Regions from separate parts of the Homo sapiens genome. Here all the other regions are linked to region 1. The links are contacts of gene promoters, found by promoter capture Hi-C in blood cells and fetal thymus (Javierre and others, 2016). All regions are on one chromosome and are shown on one strand. The core of a region is centred on a gene start or on the middle of the fragment in contact, and the rest is flanking DNA. Distances in the headings are between cores, read along the strand shown. Region 1 holds the start of TKTL2 (transketolase like 2). Region 2 has its middle 27 kb from the start of SMIM31. Region 3 overlaps SMIM31 (small integral membrane protein 31).

What was found. Contacts are between HindIII fragments. The CHiCAGO score rates a contact against its expected background, and 5 or more counts as called.
Region 2: a fragment that was not itself captured here is called in contact with the fragment with the promoter of TKTL2 in region 1 in 9 of 17 cell types (endothelial precursors, naive CD4 T cells, naive CD8 T cells and 6 more); the score reaches 10.6 in endothelial precursors.
Region 3: a fragment that was not itself captured here is called in contact with the fragment with the promoter of TKTL2 in region 1 in 6 of 17 cell types (endothelial precursors, total CD8 T cells, naive B cells and 3 more); the score reaches 10.5 in endothelial precursors.

What each region holds. Positions count from the first base shown.
Region 1 is chr4:163,472,339-163,475,455 of GRCh38, forward strand. It overlaps TKTL2 (transketolase like 2), which reads right to left and starts at 1,416. Exons shown (of 1, transcript NM_032136.5): 1 at 1-1,416. The coding sequence starts at 1,396. The HindIII fragment of the contact is 3,282 bases long and covers 1-2,145 here.
Region 2 is chr4:164,725,929-164,729,322 of GRCh38, forward strand. It overlaps the pseudogene CHORDC1P3. Among named protein-coding and RNA genes, the nearest start is that of SMIM31, 27 kb to the right of the region's middle. RefSeq lists an enhancer at 1,707-1,876. The HindIII fragment of the contact is 5,791 bases long and covers 1-3,394 here.
Region 3 is chr4:164,763,755-164,767,314 of GRCh38, forward strand. The region is part of intron 1 of SMIM31 (small integral membrane protein 31); the gene reads left to right. Among named protein-coding and RNA genes, the nearest start is that of SMIM31, 11 kb to the left of the region's middle. The HindIII fragment of the contact is 3,677 bases long and covers 1-3,560 here.

The sequences.
Region 1 (3,117 bases), core at 166-2,665:
CGGCTAGATAAATAGCATGCTCTGTCGAGATGGCATCACTTGGATAGAAAACAGTACAATTGGGAATGCTTCGGAACATGGCTAGATCCTCCAGGGCCATCTGGGAGACTCCATCTTCTCCAGTGGATACCCCACAGTGGGAACCAATAAGGTTGATATTGGCTTGAGAAATGGCTCCCATTCGGAGCTGATCGAATGCTCTAGTAAAAAAGGCAGCAAAAGCACCAGCAAAAGCAATGGTTCGACCACGTGTAGCACAGCCTAGTGCCACACTTACCATGTTTTGTTCAGCAATAATACACTCTATGAAACGCTCAGGGTGTTCTTTCCTGAATATCTCAGAAAAGGTGGAGTTCATCGTGTCACCACTCAGAACAATAACTCTTTCATTTGCACGGCCCAGTTTAGCCAGAGCCAAACCATATGTTTTCTGAGTAGCTATCTTGTCACCAACTTTGTAAGCAGGTGGGGAGGTCATTTTTATATCTGTGATGCTTATTTGAGGTGAGTCTTCCACAGGCGATTTTGGTATGAGATTCTCATTGGTCTGTATCTGACTCTCAATTAATTTGACAATTGCATCTGCTCTTTCTTTTGGCACTGGCTTTCCATGCCAATTTTCTGCATCCTCAATATTTGGAATACCCCGACCTTTGAAGGTCTTGGCAACTATAGCAGTAGGCTTGTTCTTCACTTGACTTGCTTGCCAAAATGCTTGGCACAAGGCCTCCACATCATGGCCATCCACTAAGTAAGTATTCCATCCAAAGGCTTCACAGCAATTCTGGTAGATGTCTGCGCCATGCTCAAGGGGTGCAGGGCCACTTTGTCCCAAGCGGTTCACGTCGAAGACCGCCACGAGATTGTCCAAGTTGTAGTGGGAGGCAAAAGCAAAAGCCTCCCACACAGAGCCTTCTGAGGATTCGCCATCTCCCATAAGGCAGAACACCCGGTAGCTGGCCTTGTCAAGGTACTTGCCAGTATAAGCCATTCCACATGCAGTACCTAATCCCTGACCTAGGGACCCTGTTGCCACGTCAACAAACGGCAATCGGGGGGTAGGGTGTCTCTCCAAGTCGCTGTGAAGTTTCCTCAGGTTCAGCAAGTCAGATTCACTGATGTCACCCACCTCCACCCAAGCAGCATAGAGGATAGGAGCAGCATGTCCCCTGGAGAGGATGAACCGGTCGTTGTCCGGGTGTTCTGGGTCTGTCTGTTTATACTTCATCGTGTGGAAGAAGAGGACAGACACGACCTCCGCTGCACTGCAGCACGACGTGAGCTGGCCAGAACCAGAGGCACACGTGGCCCTGATGGAATGGATCCGCAGGCGGTTGGCTGTGTCCCGCAGCACCTGCACGGTCTTCACGTCGGGCTTGGCGTCGTTGGCCATCATCTCTCTTTTGTCGGTTTGGCAAAGCAAACGGCGCCGCAGCACCCCCACAACCCACCGCGGCAGTGCTCTCACGTGACCGCCCCGCCCTCGCCTCCCCTCTGCCTGAAGGCCTGAGCTCAGCCACCAGCCGGGGCGCCCACAACGGAGCTTCCCGCGAGACTGAGGAAACGGAAACGTTGGAGTAGCCTGCACCCTCTGATGTGCACCGTTCCCTCTCCCTGTCCACGCCCAGCTGAATGGATTTTTAGTATTTACTTTGTCACGTGCATGTTCAACATTAGGAAGCATAATTAAATTTTTTACCTTTCCCTGTGTTATAAATTCAAGACTAGACATTTTTCTGTGTATTATAGGAAGCGATTTGTCAGGCTGTGCTTTTTTAATGCATTAACACTATATCCGAGTCATCACTCTTTCATATCAGAACATTAATAGAAAGGATACAAAGTCACTTTCAATCTGACCAGTATGGCAATGCTATCTCAACAGAGACTTTCTCAGAGCAACCAAATATCTGAATCTCAGACTTATAGAAAGAAATGCAATGACTAATTTGACCAAAATTTATAGGAAGAACAAATCTGAAACCACCCAATTGCAGAATAGAATTGCAACTCCAGTGTGCCGTAAAGTACTATTTCTGTGTTGAAATAATTAGAAGGCCAGTAGGCTGAGGTAGCTTCAGCTCCATGAGTTCCTACCTAAGGAAAGGAAACCCAAATCAGTGTAAATGATAAAAAGGAAATTTAAGCTTAATCAATCAGAAACTGCCAGCTAACTTCTAACTGGGGACTTTCCACTGGGATGACCCAAATAAGTCTAGTACTCCACTTTAACCAATCAAATATCTTTCCTTTGCTTCCAAATTCACCCTATAAAAGCCTTCTCCTTGGCTCCTTTATCAGGAGCTACCAGATTCATGAATCACTGAATGGTCAAATAAATGCTTTAATATTTTAATGTGCCTCAGTTTATCTTTTAATGACTATTACTACAAATCATTTTTAAGACAAAGTTACTTACTTTAAAAAACTAAATTTGTGGGCCGGGTGCTGTGGCTCACACCTGTAATCCCAGCACTTTGGGAGGCCGAGGCAGGCGGATCACAAGGTCAGGAGTTCGAGACCATCCTGGCTAACACGGTGAAACCCCGTGTCTACTAAAAATACAAAAAAATTAGCTGGGCGTGGTGATGGGCACCTGTAGTCCCAGCTACTCGGGAGGCTGAGGCAGGAGAATGGCGTGAACCTGGGAGGTGGAGCTTGCAGTGAGCCCAGATTGTGCCACTGCACTCCAGCCTGGGAGACAGAGCGAGACTCCGTCTAAAACAAAAAAAACTAAATTTGTGCCATTGAACTCTTCTAGCAGGCCAAGGTTATGGTTTGTCATCAATAAAACAACAATTAAAAAAAACACAATGATAATATATCATACCTTCCCATATTGCGATGTTAAACCTCTTGGTTTCTTGAGCAATAATTCTTACCTTAACTTCACGTTAAAATTAGGGCACATAAGAAACACAATGCCTGGTTCCATCCCAGAAAAATAGAATTTGAATTTCTGGACCTGGAGTCTGGGAAGCTATGTTTCTAAAATACATCCATTGATTATAATGGGTAGTCAAGGTTAATAACATAATCTGGAGATAGTCTGAGACCAGTGGTTCTCAACATTAGTTGTAGTTTAGAATTATCTGGGAAGTTTTAAAAACATCTCAT
Region 2 (3,394 bases), core at 550-3,049, 1.3 Mb after region 1:
CTCTTTTCCAGGAGGAGATGAAACTCTGAAACTATTGAAAATAAAAGAAACTTCTGATTTTAGTATGTTCTTAGCCCAAGAGGGCTGTGCAAAAAGGAAACACACGTAGACCATGGAAAAAAAATGCTGGGAACAAAGTTATTCCATGTAGACATGCCTGGCATCAGGCAAGAGGTCACAATTTCCATAGATGCTAAAAACTCACTTCCAGAACTTAGTTGAGTAGAAGCAAATAGTACATTATTAAATGCGTACACTGCATTTGAATGTGGCTCATTGCATGGTGGCTCATGCCTATGATCCCAGCACTTTGGGAGGCCAAGGCCAGTGGATCACTTGAGCCTAGGAGTTCAAGTCCAGCCTGGCCGACATGACGAAACCCGTCTCTACTAAAATACAAAAGTTAGCCAGGTGTAGTGGTACATGCCTGTAATCCCAGCTGATTGGGAGTCTGAGGCATGAGAATCACTTGAACCTGGGAAGCAGAGGTTGCAGTAACCGAGGTTGCACCACTGTACTCCAGCCTGGGCAACAGAGCAAGACTCTGTCTCAACAACAACATCAACAACAAAACCAACGCATTGTATTTGAAGAAGAGAAGAAATTTCATCAAAATGCAAAATTATGGATTGTGATTGTTGAAAAGTGAAGTTAGGTAGCTATGACTGCAATGCAGACAGAGAGCACAGTAAGAATAGCTGGTCCTATGCAATAGGCACACCTTGAATTGCCTGCAACCAAAAGGCAAGAAAAACAAACAGAAGATACAACAGATTGAGTGACTGAGCTATTGCTTATTTCAGAATTCTTAATAATGTGTGGCAAAGTGGTATCTTGCTGCTGTAATCTTTTGTTTTGTTGTGTTGTTGAATCTGGCATTTCAGGATCAACATCAGGTTCTTAAAAGCCAAAGTCAGTTCACCTTTTTGTGCCTCCCATCGTTCTTTTGAGTTATGTAAGATAGATTATTCATTTCTCCTCGCTGATAGAACCATAGTTGTGTCCTATACTTGGAGAAGCTGGAAAATAGCTCACCAACATAATTGCAGTATTTCTTAGTATAATATTATGTTAGGCAGAAAAACATTAAGGAACATTTGTTTTTGTCACATCTCTATTATCTCATAATTAGTAAGGCAAGATGAAATGTCAATTTTTAATCCTTTTTTATGGATTTGTATTCCTATAATATATGAAAATCTCTGAGGAAGAGATGAAGCTCTGCATTATTTTTTCTATGTGGGAGGGTTTTTATAGGAGGATTAATTCTGAGGTAGTATAGTAGGTGGTTAAAGGGAAATACATGCACTTATTAACAAATCAGAGTTTGTTTACAACTAATTGAATTTAAAAATTATATCAATACTTATATCGCTTGCCAAGCAGTATGATTTAAGAGTATAGGAAACAAATAAGAGTACAAAGGTATCAATTTGGTTAAAATTTACCATTTTATAAGACTAAGAAATAATGTAGAAAAAAACTCTTTCCTAATTAAGTGTCTTTCGGTGGTGTTATGGCAAAACTGTAACTTTTTACAGCCTAACCTCTTGTAAAGCCTTTAATTAGTTACATGTAAAAAAAATTATCTACCTCTGGCTTATTGGATGGAAAACTATATCTATAAAATTGTAGACTTAAAGGTTCATGGAAATACATTAGGGTATCAAAAAGTGAAATGTATGAACTTTATGACAACTATGATATATTCAATAAAATAGCTTAATTGTTTTTTAAAAAAGGATTTTAATAGGGTTTGAGGTAAAACTCATGCCACTGCTAACTGATGAAGGTCGTATTCCATAAAAACCCTCCATCCTTTTTCTTATTGATGGATGGCTCCAAAAAATTCTGTCCCTCCACTTTCACTCATGTATTGTGTCCTCTGTGAGCAGCCATATTTGTTAAAGCTGAAATGTCATGATGATGGATCACAACCAGACCCTCTATTTGGGGCTAGATACCTGAGCCAATCTGTCATTATGTGCAAATTATCTTCTTGCTGGATCTGGAGAGATAAATAAGATGCAATTGCACATGGTTCTATATCCTGTTTTAACTAAACGAACGTATGGCCCAATAAGAATAGGGGTCAGACATCATGGGACTCAATGGAGCCTGTGATTCTGGAAGTAAGCCAGCTAAGGCCCCTCTGAGCCTGCTCCTGCTTTCCTCTGGATTTTTGTATGCACAATGATACCTAAAAAACACTGAACACCGTTTGACTTAAATTCTATTTCATATTTGTTCACGTCATGCTTGAACTCTTAGCCTGGTCCTTATCTCTTCAAATTTGCCCGCATCTAACTCCAAAGATGATTCTTTGAGTTCATTTCAGACAATACCATTTTAGTCTCCAGCAGGAGCCCTGGGGAAACTCACCATGTCTAATTTATCTTCAGTGAATATCAAATCATATTCACCACATAAAAGTTAGGATGGCTTTATCAGTTTTATTAAAGCTGTAAATTTTCCTTTTAAAACCTGCCAAAGCCTATGCTTCTAGAATCCTCTAACAACAAATTAACTTTTTTTCCCTTCTTTCTCTGCTTAGTCCTTCAGCCAGTCTGACCAATGGGATACTCCCCATAGAGCATGTGTGAAAATTGTCCTGTAATTCAAGACAGCAGAGTGGTATTTCTGTTTTTCTACCTGGATTCACACTTGGCGCAGTGCTGTAGCTCAGAAAGAAAAACTGCACATCTAAGAACCACAGTTCCAGGCAAGGTGTTGGAGGCTTTGGTCTTACAGACATGAAAAAGCTGCTTTGAACCGCTTGACGTTTTCTACTCAGGAACCCCAAACTTGTGCCTACTGTTCTCGCTCCTTGTTAAGGCCTCCTTCTAAAGCCTCTGAGTAACATGATCTCAGCCCTCCCGAGCCTAGAGCCTAGATTCCCCCATTGCCTCACTCCTCCCACTGCCCTCACTATGCCTTGTGGGAGCCTCTCCAGGGGACACTATCTCCTGAATGCAGAATGTACCTTCACATCTTTCAACTTTTGCTCTGAATATCCCATCCGACTACATTCTCTTTGTCTTCTTTATCATCTGTTGAAATCCTATAGATCTTTTAGGGACCAGGCTGAATTCACAGGCTTCATTCTCCTCCAATGCATCTAATCACCTTTCCTCCTTTCTCCATACCTTTTAACACTTTGCATCCCTTTTCCCTGTCTATCTCTCTCTCTACTTTAAATGCTCATGATCATCCTGATCCTCCCAGCACCTGTCTCTGTCTTTCCAATACTAGGCATAGCAAACAAATTGCTTAAAAATCTCACGTTAGGCTGGGCACGGTGGCTCATGCCTATAATACAAGCACTTTGAAAGCCAAGGCAGGTGGATCATCTGAGGTCAGGAGTTCGAGACCAGCCTGATCAACATGGTGAAAT
Region 3 (3,560 bases), core at 502-3,001, 1.3 Mb after region 1:
CCAAAGATTTAAAAGAAGGCATAGAATACCTGCTTATTAACCTAGTGGGTGTGTGTATATATGAAAAAATCAAGTTGTACACCCTAACTGTATACAATTTTTATTTGCCAATTATACCTCAATAAAATTGGGAGGAAAAAACCTTGTGGTTGACATAAAGCCAAAGGAATCTTCAAACATTCTGTGAGATAAGAAAAATAACGGTAGATAGGAAGTGCTATATCTATCTTTAGTTTCCAAAATTCTTCAACATATTATTTATAATAGTATATTTATAATCACAAAAATTAATAACTGTAATTTTTAAATCATCCTTTAGAAACTCAGAAAGTGATATTAAATAAATTGAAAACTAACAATTGTTGAATTTTCCCTAAGCTGTTTTGGTCAAATAGCTGTCCAGCCTGAATTCCTCTAGTGATGAGGAACTCACTATCATTGGAGGCATGGATTGCCCTATATGTTTTTTTAAATGAGGCCTGACCGGCAACCAGACCATTGGCAGACCATTGAGTTAAAATGTGGTGGGTGTGGCAGGGCACAGTAGCTCACACCTGTAACCTCAGCACTTTGGGAGGCCGAGGCGGGCAGATCATGAGGTCAAGAGATCAAGACCATCCTGGCCAACATGGTGAAATCCTGTCTCTACTAAAAATACAAAAATTAGCTGAGCGTGGTGGCGTGTGCCTGTAGTCCCAGCTACTCGGGAGGCTGAGGCAGGAGAATTGCTCGAACCTGGGAGGCGGAGGTTGCAGTGAGCCAAGATCGCGCCACTGCACTACAGCCTGGCGACAGAGCGAGACTCCATCTCAAAAAAAAAAAAAGAAAAAAATAGAAAAAAATGTGGTGGGTGCTGTTGTTGCCTTACTGGAATCCAGTCAACCTAATTCAAAATATTGCCTTCAGCTTGGTTACTCCACTTTAGAGGGATTTGGAAGTAAAGGAGAGAAATCAAAAGGGACAAAGGACACAGAATTATGTCATAAGAAGAATATTTGTCTAGACAAAGGAAAGAAAGCCCAGGCAACATGACAAATTCCTGGTCTTCAAATATTTGAGGATCCCTCTCATAAAAGGAGAACTTTTTAGTTCTGTATTTAGGAATCACATGGTAATAGTTAAAAAGAACAGAATTTTAGCTGATATAGAGTTTTCTAAAGAGCAGGGTTATCCAGAGATTAAACAGATTGCCTCCAATGACAGTGAGTTCCTCATCACTAGAGGAATTCAGGCTGGCCATCTATTTCACCAAAACAGTTTAGGGAAAATTCAATCATTGTATGGTGTCTGGACAAGGTGATTTTTGATTTTCTTTCCAAACCTGAAATTTTATTTGGAGGAAAGTTCTCAAGGACAAGATGGCTTTTTGTTCAGAGTTTGACCAGAAGAAGACTTGAGACATGGAGTTGCCCAAAGAAACAGAGGAAGGCAACATGATAGAGGATCCATCCAAAAAGAAAGATTGAGAAAATCAAAGAGACATGTAGCAGGTTGAAATGTCAAGTAGGAACAGCATTGACAGGAGCTGGGACACATCATTTGTCATTCAGCAAGCGTGATTTGCCAAGTACTTGGTGTCAGGGAGTAAATAAGAAAAACAGTTTTCTGCCTGTATGAGCCTTCAAGGTGAATACATAATTCAGAAACCATATGCAGAGACTAATGAGCGTTGTTGGCATTTCACAGATGGACGGGATAATTCAAGGCTTTGTTTAGTAGACAGGATTTACACCATGACAGAACCACCCTCCTACAGATAAAACGGAAAAAAGTGCCACTGGTTTCAGATTATTTAAATTAGATAAGCATTCAATGCAGCAGGTGAGTCTTGTTCAGAATTTTTAAAGAAGGAAGGGATACTTTGTCTCAGAAAAAAAAAAAAAAAAAAGGCAGATAAATCCAGGAAGCAACAGAAGTGGCATGCACGTTGGTTAGTAGCCTTTAGACTTTTTCCACAAGGCCTTTGAAGGCAAGGGGGGAGTGGGCACTGCAGTATCTCACAGATTTTTTTCAGCCCATAGTTTTCTAATGTAGCAGGCTATAAGAATTCAAAACACTAAATTCCCACTGCCCAGAAAAGTGCATTTACTTCCTGTAAATAAGCCCTTTATTTTTACTCTGGCAGATTTTTCTTTAGATGAAGGCAGTCATTTTACCTAGTCCCCTTGGCCCTTGATGCATGCACACAGCATCTACAATAGGAAGGAGACTCAATAAGAAGAGCATGTTCCATGCTGTCCCCGAGCAATCATAACAGCACTCAAGGGAGCCGCGAGAGAATGAACGGATGGTGCACAAAGAGAGCAGTGAGCTCTGTCAGCAGCCATGAGACAGAAAAATAAAGTAACAAAGGAAAAGAAACACATCTCCCCCGTGAGGGCAATAACAGCAGCAAGAAAAACCATCAATCCCAACCATGCTGCCTGTTTTATGGAAACCTTAAAGCCATTTTCAAAATATACTTCTTGTCCTCTGGGTGGGATTTTCTCAAGTAATAGAGTGCTTGATGCCGCTGAGATTTCCAAATACATCTTCAATCCAGAGTTTCCATTCACAGCTGTGAAATTCAGAGTTTTGCATCAACTTGCCTTCTTCGGTGCTGCTTGCATCCACTCGTTTATGGTCACTCAGTGAATACTTATGGGAAAATGTACTATATGCCCGTCATTTTTCTAAGCCCTATAGGTACGGAGATAAACAAAGCAGACTGCTTTCATAGAACTTTAATGGGGAAAGACAGACAAACAATAACAAAAAAATGTAGCCAGGCACGGTGGCTCACGTCTGTAATCCCAGCACTTTGGGAGGCTGAGGCAGGCGGATCACGAGGTCAGGAAATTGAGATCATCCTGGCCAACATGGTGAAACCCCATCTCTACTAAAAATACAAAAAATTAGCCAGGCGTGGTGGCACACACCTGTAGTCCCAGCTACTCGGGGGACTGAGGCAGGAGAATCGCTTGAACCCGGGAAGCGGAGGTTGTAGTGAGCTGAGATCGTGCCACTGCACTCCAGCCTGGTGACAGAGTGAGACTCCATCTCAAAAAAAAAAAAAAGAAGAAAAATGCAATGGAGAATAGCTGTGATGAAAATAAAACTGCTGAGAACTTGGCTTAGATTAGAAGTCAAGAAATGCCTCTGTGGGGAGGTGGTGCTTGAACTGAAGAGAAGACACAGAGAAAGTAGACAATGAGAATGTAGAGGAGATTCTCAGGCAGGAGGAAGACAGGATGAGCTTAGCAGGGCAAGGAACACAAGCAAGGTCAGTGCAGGAGCATGCAAACTGTCACACATGCTACCATCAGACGGGATGTGGGGTAGGTGATGGGGGCCTAGTAGGGAAGAACTGGGAGTTTGAATTTTACTCCAAGGGAAGCCATTGGCTAGTTAAGTAGAAGAGGAGTGGATCTGATTTACATTTATAAAGATCATTCCCTTCGTGATGCTAAAGGATAGTAGGAATACAGAATGGTAGGGTCGGGATAGTCTAATGACCATCTGAATTTAATCTGTTTCCTAAATTATCTAAGAAATAATGACATATCAAGGTAACCAGGCTT